2 separate regions of the Homo sapiens genome follow, and region 2 is linked to region 1. The links are contacts of gene promoters, found by promoter capture Hi-C in human tissues and cell types (Jung and others, 2019). All regions are on one chromosome and are shown on one strand. Each heading gives the region's core, a stretch centred on a gene start or on the middle of the fragment in contact. The rest is flanking DNA. Distances are from core to core; before and after follow the strand shown.

Region 1 (5,326 bases), core at 1,436-3,935:
TAGGGTGAGGCTAGGCACGTGTGTGGGTAATGGGGGCAGGAAGAGGTGCCCTAGAAGGAAATTCAGAAGCTGAGATAGCTCTTTGAGATACTTAAAGGTATACATACTTCTTTTGTGTATTTTCTTGCATTGCAGTAGGAAGAGGGAACTTGAGTCACCCAAGTCCAGCCTTCCAGCACCAGAGTGTTGGAACCGGCAGAAGCCTAAGTCCCAGCTAGTCCAGGCCCTTAGACAACGAGTACACCTGAGAAGTCCTGGCAGCTCCAGGGTGTGTGGGCGGCAGCTGATCCCGAGGAAAACAAACCTCTGGGCTCTAAGAGCCCCGCAGGCTGTACCTGCGGATTTCCCCTCTCAGCCAACTCCAGCCTCTGCTCCCCCTCTGCTCCTCACTTCTCTAAAGCGAAACATCTCACAGTCATTTGCTCCATGCTTCCTGTACGATTTCTTTATTTTTACTCTCCAGTTTGTGGGCTGAGTCTGTGTGGGTGTGGGAGAGGGGCTGGGTATTTCTACTTCTCTGCATTTTCCTTCTGAGCTGGGAGGACTTTCACTTCCTCCCCAGTCTCTCAGTTCTGCCTTTCATGGGCTGTTCAGGCCATGAGACCACCTCTCCTAATCCTTCCTGAGCACCAGGGAAATGGAAAACTGACTGTAACTGGCTGCCCTGGAAGGGCCTAGCATCCACTCAGGAGCAACAGGTGGTGGCAACTACAGCAGTAACAGTAACCTCCCTGGGGCAGGAGCCTTGGGCTGGCGTGACAGCAGCAGAGGCAGCCAAGGGAGCCCTGCTTGCTCCTGAGGCCATCCGAGCCCTGGAACCTGTCTTGCATCCCTCTAACACCACCATGGGCAAGCCTGGGCCTCCACTTCCCTCCCTCAGCCTTTTCTGTCCCAGCACTCAGCCAGACAAGAGTGACTCTCAGCTTGCCCCAATGCCCCCAGCTCTGCCTGCTGATCTAGTTCTATATTTGAGAGTCTTAGACATCTACCACACTGGAGCACAGAGCCACGGGAGGGGTTGGCCTCCATCACCGGGGCCTGACAACCTGCCATCCCGCCATCCCAACCTCCCTGAACCTCAGTCTCCTCTTTCAAACAAAGTTATATGTAGATACAGTGGAGGATTAGAAAACATTGAATGGGTGCCCCAATCAACAGTGTCTGTTACTGGCAGGAGTTATAAATGTGTATTGAAAATGGAATCCCTTCTTTTTTTCTTCCAATCATAAGGACCACAACCATCCAAAAAGCAAAGAGAGCCTCAGACACTCCAGCTCAGCCTCTAGTTGCAGAAAGTCACCTCCTCAAAGGGAGAGATCAGTGTTCACCTAGGACTGGAATTCAGTGTGATCTAGTGGTTGAAAGTCTTAGCCTTCAGCCTCCCCAGCCTGTCAGCTGTTCCAGAAGCCTGTCAGCTGCCCCTTAGTTTTCTGCTGTGTCCTCAAAGAAGCACTGGGACCCTAAAATAAACCTCTGGAGAGCCAGTTGCCCAACTCTTCCAGAAGAGAGACTAGACACGCAGCTGGGCATGCGGCCAGAGCCCAAGAAAAGCCTGGTTTGCCAGGGGCAGATTACAGTCAACGGGAGCAGTAAGTGCCTCTGCCCTCTCCCTCACGGGTCCTTCTCTTTTCTAGAGGGGAGTCCAGCACGTGCCAGCCCCAGGAGGTCTCACTCCCTTGCCAGCCTCCCGACTCAATTCCCAGGACTGGGGCACTTGGCTTCCCAGAGTTGGTGGCTGCCAAAGTGACTCCGTGCAGCGGGAAGATCCGTGACTCAGCGCCCGTGATGTCAGTCCCTTCATAGTCAGGGCACTGTCATCCACACATGCACCCGCGGGGGTGGGGGGAGGACCAGGCGAGGTGGACCCCCAATGCAGAGGGAGAAGAGGGGCGCTGGTACAAAGGACTCCCCAGGCGGGTACATCACCCCGCTGGGGCGCGCCCTCTCGGGCAGTCTCCCCTTAGAGTAACCTGGGACGCGGTTGTGTAAAGGCTCCTGGGGGCACTGGGAAGGAAGCTCGAGAGTCAGGTTTGCAAGGACACAGTCCTGTACACAGACCGCAGGGTTCCCGCACAGCTTCACCGGGCATTCCGGGGAGCGCTCCGGACCAAGGGAGCAAGCGCAGCAGGGGGCGCAAGAGCCACTACCCGCGACCACACAGCTAGGTACCCGCGGGGCCTCAAGGCAGCCACAGAAAAGGGGATCCGTCGCACCTCCTTTCCTCCCTCCAGCCTCCCACAGACTGCGGTGACCAAGGCGGTTTCCCCCAGCCGCTAGCTGCCCCAGCCCTCCAGGTGCGCCCGAAGCCCTTACCCTGCGCAGGGCAGCGCCTTGGGGCCAGCGCCGCTCCCGGCGCGGCCAGCAGGGCAGCCAGCAGCGCGCAGCCGACGGCCAGCATGCTTCCTCCTCGGCTACCACTCCATGGTCCCGCAGAGGCGGACAGGCTAATGGGAACCGGGCGGCAGGGGTGGCAGGGGCGGGGCGGGGCGGTGGGCGGGCAGGCGGGCTCAGGCCCCGGGGGCAGCCCCCATCCGCAGGAGCCCGGCTCTCTACACACACTGCGAGTCCCTCGGCCCCGCGCCGCGCTCGGCTCCTCTCCCTCTGGCCCGGCTCAGTGTCAGTGCGACTTCCCACTCGCACATGACTCAGAGCGGCGGACGGTCCTGGCAACGCAGGAAAACATTTGAGGAACTCGCGCTGGAGCGTCTCTGGGCCGTCCCAGGGTGCGGTTACGAAAGCCGGAGCGGATGGCGCAACAGCCCCGCGCACCGGCCGACCGAGGGGGTGGCTTCCTGCCACAGCGCCGCACCTGAGCGGGGAGAACAGGGGACCGCCAGCCCCACCAGAGCCCTTCCTCCCGGTTCTGTTGATGAGAAAAGGGCGTATCAGCCACCAGTGGGCAGTGGCCTAGTTTTGATTTTTGGTTTCGTGAACGGGATTACGCTGTGAAAGGCACACCTGGAGAGCCCTCGAGGAGGCGATGTTCCTCTTACCCTTAGGGTAAAACAGTGCTTGGTAGCCCGGTTGCCCACTGGAATCAGCCAGGAGCCCTAAAACCCACCAATGTCTGGGTCGGGTCTCCAGAGATTCTGATTTCATCGGTCTGGGGTGAGGCTTGGGCATCGGAAGACTCACCACCGTAAAGGCACAGTCTTTCTGCCCAGCTGCTCCTCGCAGGCTGCAGCAGAGGCAAGGAAACGGTTTGGACTTTGCAGTCAGATAGACCTGGGTCCCCATTTAGACCTACCATCTACTGTGTCTGTGACTTCGGTTCAGAATCTGAGTCTCCATTTCCTCATCTGTCAGAGATAAGAAAGCCTATGCTGCCCAGGGTTATTAGGAAGGTTCTGTGGATGGCACCTAAACACCTGACACACGGTCTGGGCCACACGTGCTCAGTAGACATCAGAACGTTCATGGCTGCCCTCCTGACTTGACAGACAGACACTAACACCAGGGGCAGTGGCTCACGCCTGTAACCCCAACACTTTGGGAGAGCCGGGTGGGTGGATTGCTTCAGTCCAGGAATTCTAGACCAGCCTGTGTAACAAAGTGAGACCCCCATTTCTATAAAAAAATTTAAAAATTAGCTGGGTGTGGTGGTACACACCTATAGTCCCAGCTACTAGGGAAGCTGAGGTGGGAAAATTGCTTGAGTCCGGGAGATCCAGGGTACAGTGAGCCGTGATTGGGGGCTGCTACTCCAGCCTGGATGACAGTGAGACCCTGTCTGGAAAGAAAAAAAAAAAAAGAAAAGAAAGAAAGAAAAGGAAGGGAGGAGGGAGGGAGGGAGGGAAGGAGGGATAGAGGGGAAGGAAGGAAAGGAAGGAGAGAAAAAAAGAAAGAAACAAGCACCTGGCTTTTGAGCAACCACAAGGACCTTGAAGGGGACCATCTGTCCGTCCCTTGGAGGGGAACTCTCTCAAGGACCCCCACAGAGCCTAAAGCTGATAGGATGGCCTCATAGCTGAATCTGGAGGGAAAGAAAAATGCTGAAATAAAGTTTAGGCTGAGAAGCTTCTAGACCAGCAACTGCTCATTAGAATGTGTTTTTCTACCTTTGGTTTCAGGCCAATCCTAACCCAGATCAAAGATCCTGGGACAGCTGGAACAGGCATGGCCTAATGGAACTCCCAAGTGGACAGGGCCAGGCATGGACGGACAGAGCTTCTGAAACAGTCCTCAGACCCCGTGCATCTGGATCTTTCTGTAGGAACCACCCATCAGCAGTGCCAGACAGAACCAAGCACATGCACTGATCCACCGCACGATGGGAGCTGGTGTGGGTGAGCTTGTTTGCTTTAGCCATGCCCACAGACAGGAACAGAAGAGCACAGTGGAGGCCACCAGCCCTCTCGCCTGCTATTTCAAAAGGGGTTGCAGCAGGGCTGGAAAGCGGTTCCCACTGTGGTTGCCCCCTTCCTCTCTGTGGCACACACAGACCTGAAAATAACCAGAGAGGGACTGTGAGCTGCCAGCCTAAAACAGGAAGGCTGCAGAAAGTCCTAGGCTCAGATAGGAGAGTTTAAAAGAATGTTGAAACCAAGAACGGGCATCACAGATCCCACCTGTCTCTGCACCAAAGCAGACCTCCCCCTCTCTAATCTACTGGTGGGGAGCCTGTGTGCTCTGTAGTCATGCAGATCCCAGCTTTACCACTTGCTGGCTGTGTGACTTAAGCAAGCTATTTAACTTCTCTGAACCCCTATTTCCTGATTTGTAAGATAAGCGCAGCAATATACAAAGTTTTAGTGTTGTGGTTCACATGAAAAAATTTAATCCTGGCCAGGCCGGACGTGGTGCCTCACACCTGTAATTCCAGCACTTTGGGAGGCCAAGGTGGGCAGATCATGAGGTCAGGAGTTCGAGACCAGCCTGACCAACATGGTAAAACCACATCTCTACTAAAAATACAAAAATTAGCCGGGCATGGTGGTGCGTACCGGTAGTCCCAGCTACTCAGGAGGCTGAGGCAGGAGAATCACTTGAACCCAGGAGGCGGAGGTTGCAGTGAACCGAGATGGCACCACTGCACTCCAGCCTGGGCAAGAAGAACGAAACTCCCTCTCAAAAAAAAGAAAAGAAAAAGAAAAAAGAAAGAGAAGAAAGCATACCTGCACAATTCAGCCTGACCTGCCCTCACCCAGACAACAGAAGGAACAATGAAGACTTTAGTTGTCTGAGCCAGAACACTTCTCAGATAACTGTGCTGCTTACAAATTGCTTTACATACACAATCTCCTCTGAAATTCTCAACCCTGAATGCTGGGAGACATTGCCCCCAATTTTCAGATGAGTAGACTGAGGCTAACAGAGGTAAAGTGGC
Region 2 (5,326 bases), core at 364-2,863, 200 kb before region 1:
TGAACCCGGGGGGCAGAGGTTGCAGTGAGCCGAGATTGCGCCATTGCACTCCAGCCTGGGCAAAAAGAGCGAGACTCCGCCTCAAAAAAAAAAAAAAAAGTACCTTCCGTAGTTCTCATGCAGCGGAGGGGTTCGACTTGTAACCGGCCTGAAACCAAGCGTGGCGCAAGATTTGCTCAAGCCCCTCCTCTTGGCCAAACTTTCCGGAGGGGAAGGCTTTCCGAGGAAACGAAAGCGAAATTGAACCGGAGCCATCTTGGGCCCGGCGCGCAGACCCGCGGAGTTTCCCGTGCCGACGCCCCGGGGCCACTTCCAGTGCGGAGTAGCGGAGGCGTGGGGGCCTCGAGGGGCTGGCGCGGCCCAGCGGTCGGGCCAGGGTCGTGCCGCCGGCGGGTCGGGCCGGGCAATGCCTCGCGGGCGCAATGAATCCGCGGCAGGTAAGCCGGGCCGGCCTTGGACCTTCGCCGCCGTCTGGGTTCGTTTACAACCTCACAGGCTTTGTGTTGCAGTGCGTAGCGTGTGCGTCTTGTGAGTGTTAGAGTGTGTGTGTGTGTGTCGTCTTGCCAAGCAGCATTGCTGGTTTAGGAATTTGTGCGTCTTGTGAGTGTGTGTGTGTGGGTGTGTGTCGTCTTGCCAAGCAGCATTGCTGGTTTAGGAATTTGTGCGTCTTGTGAGAGTGTGTGTGTGTGTGTGTGCGTGTGTGTGTAGTCTTGCCAAGCAGCATTGCTGGTTTAGGAATTTGTGAATTTGTATCCTGCTCATTAATTCTGCAGAATGGAGCAGTGCGTGAAGAGGGCTTGGGGGAAAATGCGCCCCCGTCTGAGTAGGAAGGCCTGAGCCCATGTCAAGGCAGACACATCGTCTCCCTTTCTGCTAGGGCCCCTTGTGGAACCCCCTACCCCCGCTTTAGCCCCACTTGAACAACGTTCGGACTTTGAGCAGCGCACACTATCCTCAGCTCACCTTATCCACCTCCTGAAGGCCTTCTGGGAGTTAAAAATGGCACTTAAGCTGTAGGAGAAAGCTTGTTAACCACTTTATAGCTAAAAACTGGGAAAACACAAATGGCCTTCAGCAGGTTAACAGATAAACTGAAATACATCCACATAATGGGATACTGCTTAGTAGTGAAGAGGAAATACTGTTACAAGTAACAACACGGGTGACTCGCAAGTGCGTTATGCTAAGCACGAGAAGCCAGACTCAAAAGGCTGCATACTGTATGAGTCCATTTATATGACATTCTGGAAAAAAAAAACCACAGTTATAGGGATGGAAAGTGGATCCGTGGGTGCCAGGGACTGGGTATCGTGGAAGAAATTGATTGTTGAGTGGCATGAAAAAGCTTTTTAGGGAAATAGAAATGTTCTATATCTTGATTGTGGTGGCGATTGTCGAAATTCATAGATTTATACACTTAAAAGGATAAATTTTACTGTATCTAAATTATATACCTCAATTTTGTTAAGATATATATATATTTTTTTTTTTTTAAGCACTCCTTTGAAAGGATTAAGGACGCCTAACTTGAAGGAAAAGCATTTCTGCACAGGTGTCAGTGTATTGCACTGTGGAACCTGTGTGGTAAAGGCAAAGGGGGTAGTGCTTATCTCTTGATCCTAAATATGTGAGACCAGATTAAAGTGAAATCTGGGAGGCAATGAATGTTAAATGAGTTGTTATGTAATTTGCATAGAGGTGATGCTGAGAGATTTAGAAAGGATCACTGTGGGTTGCTTGCTCACTTTCTTGCTCTCCTATTCCGTAGCTTTCCAAATGGCTGTACTCAACGGTGGCTTGGTGTTTAGGGGATTTAAGGGGGGCAAAAAGAAAGATTAATAATCTCCTCCTCTCCCTCTAACCCTACTGCCCTAAGATATCCTTAGCAAACTTACATCTCCTTTCTTTTCTCTGTGTTCATTCCATTGTGCGCACACATACACATTCATGGATTTTCTCTTTTTGTTTAGGGAAAAAAATTATAATGTACATACTATTCTACAACTTTTTGTTGTTTTATTGAACATTATATGATTCCTAAATTATCCCCAGGTGAATACAAATAGATATGACACATTTTAAAAAAATAAAATAACTGGCCGGGCGTGGTAGCTCATGCCTGTAATCCCAGCACTTTGGGAGGCCGAGGAGGGCGGATCAGGAGATCGACACCATCCTGGCCAGCATGGTGAAACCCCATCTCTACTAAAAATACAAAAATTAGCTGGGTGTGGTGGCGTGCGCCTGTAATCCCAGCTACTCCGGAGGCTGAGGCAGGAGAATCACTTGAACCCGGGAGGCGGAGATTGCAGTGAGCTGAGATCACACTGCACTCCAGCCTGATTGCAGTGAGCCGAGATCATGCCACTGCACTCCAGCTTGGCAACAGAGCGAGACTCCGTCTCACAAGAAAAAAAATAACCGTGTGAGTACTATTCCATAGAATGAATGTTTCATAATTTAATTCTTCTATAGACAGACATTAAAATATTTTCCAGATTTGGGCCAAGAGTAGCAGTTTAAAAAACATTTAGCTTTTAACTGACTCTAGCCACTTTGAAACACAATTTTTTTTTCCCAAGGTCACTCAAAGAGCTAATAGGAGAACCCCTAAGTCCCATAATTCAGCTCTGGGAGCCAGCACTCACTCTGTACACACATTTGCCTCTGTCCCTAGCAATATGGTGGGCGTGAGGGTGCAGCAAGAGGAACAAGAAAGAAATGATTGCTTGCATAGTGGCGTCTTGTTCATGCAGTCATTAATTCAACAAATGTTTGTTGAGAATCAGCTTTGTGCCAAGTGCTAGAGAGGTTGAGATGATTGAAGCATAGTCCTTGACCCCCAAGAGCTCACCATGGAATCAACTGAAGCCCCTCATCAGTACTGTGTTGGGAATATTGAGAGTGGAGAGTTGAGTATAACTTATAGGACACCTAATGTTAATTACCTTTCAGACACTGCAATGTGTGTGTGCCATAAAAAAAAAAAAAATCCAGTAGCTCTGATACGAGGGAAAGTAAATGGTTTAACAGGTGCTGAGTAGGAGAAGCTCAAGGAGAGGAAACCCCAAGGGCTGAAGAAGGTGGGAGTCAGGAGTCTCCTGAAGCAAGTGGCATTTAAGGAGCTCTATAAGGAAAGGGTCAGAGTTGTGATAGGTGGCTGTGGAGGGAGATGTGCCACCTGGATTGGCATGTAGAGGGATAGAAAGATTATAGGCCTTTGCAATGGCCCAGTAAGAGGTAATGAGGGGCTGGAACTGGAAGAAAACACATTTAAGACACAGTACAGAGGTGGCAGACAAGGTGGGACTTGGCAACTACCTGATGAGATCCAGGAGATGAGGCCAGGAGGCGGGCAGCAAAGATGACGCAGGTTTCTAGCCTTAATAGGCTAGGAGGAGAGTGATGCCATTAGCAATAAGAACTACAGGAGAAGGAGCTGAGTTTGAGGGAACTATTAATTTGGTTCAGAATATGTGCTGTTTGAGTTATGGCAGGATATTTAAGTGGACAGACTGTCGACATAGTTGGAAATTCAGATCTTAAGCTCCCACACAAGGTAGTGGCTGGACATAGTAGATTTGAGTGCTCTTGCTTCAGAGGGCTAGTTTAGGTTGGGGCAGTGATTAAAGCAACCTAGGAAATAAATTATAAAGGAAGAAGAGGTCCTTAAAACCTTGGAGACTGATTATATAAAGGGTGGATCCGTTAATACAGTAGCTATTAAAAAATTATAAGGGGTGGGAAAAAGGGACAAAGAAGAAAAAAGAGGTGAAAGACCTTTGCTGTGTCACCAAACCCTGGGAGGAGAATTTTTTAAAAGAAGAGTACTCAATCCACAGTGAACTAAGGCATGTTTGTTAAACACAATTGACCACCACACAGCGAAGACCCAAATGAGGTTCAAGAGAAGGAATTTTTATGGACCCTGTTAGCACAAGTCAAGGTCCTTCTCCAGTACCACTGGGAAGCTTTGGAGAAGAAAAGGGGGACAGTGGGCCTTGGGTGGAGAAGGGAACTGACCATGAGATCCAGGTGGGGTGAGGAGGTGTGTGAAGTCAGAGTGGGGAAGAATCAGGGTGGCTTACTGGCAGCTTCACCGGGGTCATGCGAGGAGCAGGTTCCACCAGAGTAAGGAGTGAAGTTGTAGAAACACAGGGAAGTCACCATCAGAAAAGAGCAGGAGTCAAGAAACTATGGCCCACAGGTACAAACTACCTGTTTTTATAAATAAAGCTTCATGGTAAATGAATTGTAAATAAAGTTTTGCATATTGTGTGAGGCTGTTTTTGTGCTACAGTGGCAGAGCTGTCTGGCCCTTTATAGAAAAAGTTTATCAGCCACTGGAAAAGAGTTGCAGGATTTGAGGTCTTGGTGTGATGGCCTAGGTTAGAGTCATAGTGAGATTGAAGGAGTAGCTAGACAAGCCAATTGTGTGGCAGAAAGGTAGGGATGGAGATCACTGGGTTAAGGATCCTTGTAGCCAGGACACCATGAGAGTGATTGACAAGAATGCTGAAATCCCCTAAGTGTGTCAGGATGTGGAAGAGTAGAAGGCTAGAGTTATGGAAGAAAGGGTCCCACCTCTACCTGTGCAGCCTCCAGGAGAGTCTGAGGAGGGGGCGGTGAGTGTGAGTAAATGTTGTCAGAATCCCTCCTCCCAGTCTACAAGCCCCAGGGAAAGGAAGCAAGGTGTTTACTGACACCCCCAGGCTTATAAGTACTTCCTGGCTCCATCACCCTCCAGTGAACAGCCCTGGGGAGAAGACAGTACTGGTTTGCAGGTGGGTGGGTGGGGAAAGGGGTCACAGGTGCTTGGTGTTCTGGTAAATGTGCATATGAGAACATGGGGTTGCTTGTGCCCTGTCCGTCAGGGTTCAGAAGAACGTGCAGTGGAAGCAGCTATGGGGAAGTAGCTAGGGAAGGTAGGACTGGTCTGAGGTGGTGAGGAGCAGATGCTGCCAGCTCCACACATCCAGGAGAGCCTGGGTGGTTTGGGCAAAAGTCTCTGGCATCCCTTCTGAGCCTGGGTACCACACTGAAGAGTGAGGACAGTGTGCCATTTTTATCAGGAAACCCTCCAGCTCCCTGAAGACCAAATTCTGATCCTCCTGGGATGGCAGTGAAGAGCCACAGAGATGACTCTGAGGTCCCGTGGCCTTTTCCCACCTGGAGATTGTTTTCGTTACTGCGCTGTTACAGCCTTGGAGGACTGGGGTTCAGTTTCATCCAATCACATTTCTTCTTTTGTCATAGTCATCTAAACGATAGATCTTAGAGACAGGTGGGCAAGGGGTGCACTGGTGAGCCTGACTTAAGGAGAGGT

Evidence for each region. Contacts are between HindIII fragments. The study calls those that stand out against the background at their distance.
Region 2: a contact is called between a fragment that was not itself captured here and the fragment with the promoter of IL6R in region 1, in 2 of the 25 tissues and cell types used here (dorsolateral prefrontal cortex and spleen).

What each region holds. Positions count from the first base shown.
Region 1 is chr1:154,402,702-154,408,027 of GRCh38, reverse strand. It overlaps IL6R (interleukin 6 receptor), which reads right to left and starts at 2,685. Exons shown (of 10, transcript NM_000565.4): 1 at 2,314-2,685. The coding sequence starts at 2,398. It overlaps IL6R-AS1 (IL6R antisense RNA 1), which reads left to right and starts at 1,464. Exons shown (of 2, transcript NR_147855.1): 1 at 1,464-1,589; 2 at 4,071-5,326. RefSeq lists an enhancer at 1,555-2,161 and silencers at 2,401-2,550, 2,751-2,880. The HindIII fragment of the contact is 9,903 bases long and covers 1-5,326 here.
Region 2 is chr1:154,603,103-154,608,428 of GRCh38, reverse strand. It overlaps ADAR (adenosine deaminase RNA specific), which reads left to right and starts at 243. Exons shown (of 15, transcript NM_001111.5): 1 at 243-437. The coding sequence starts at 423. RefSeq lists an enhancer at 1-359 and a silencer at 360-469. The HindIII fragment of the contact is 4,982 bases long and covers 1-4,104 here.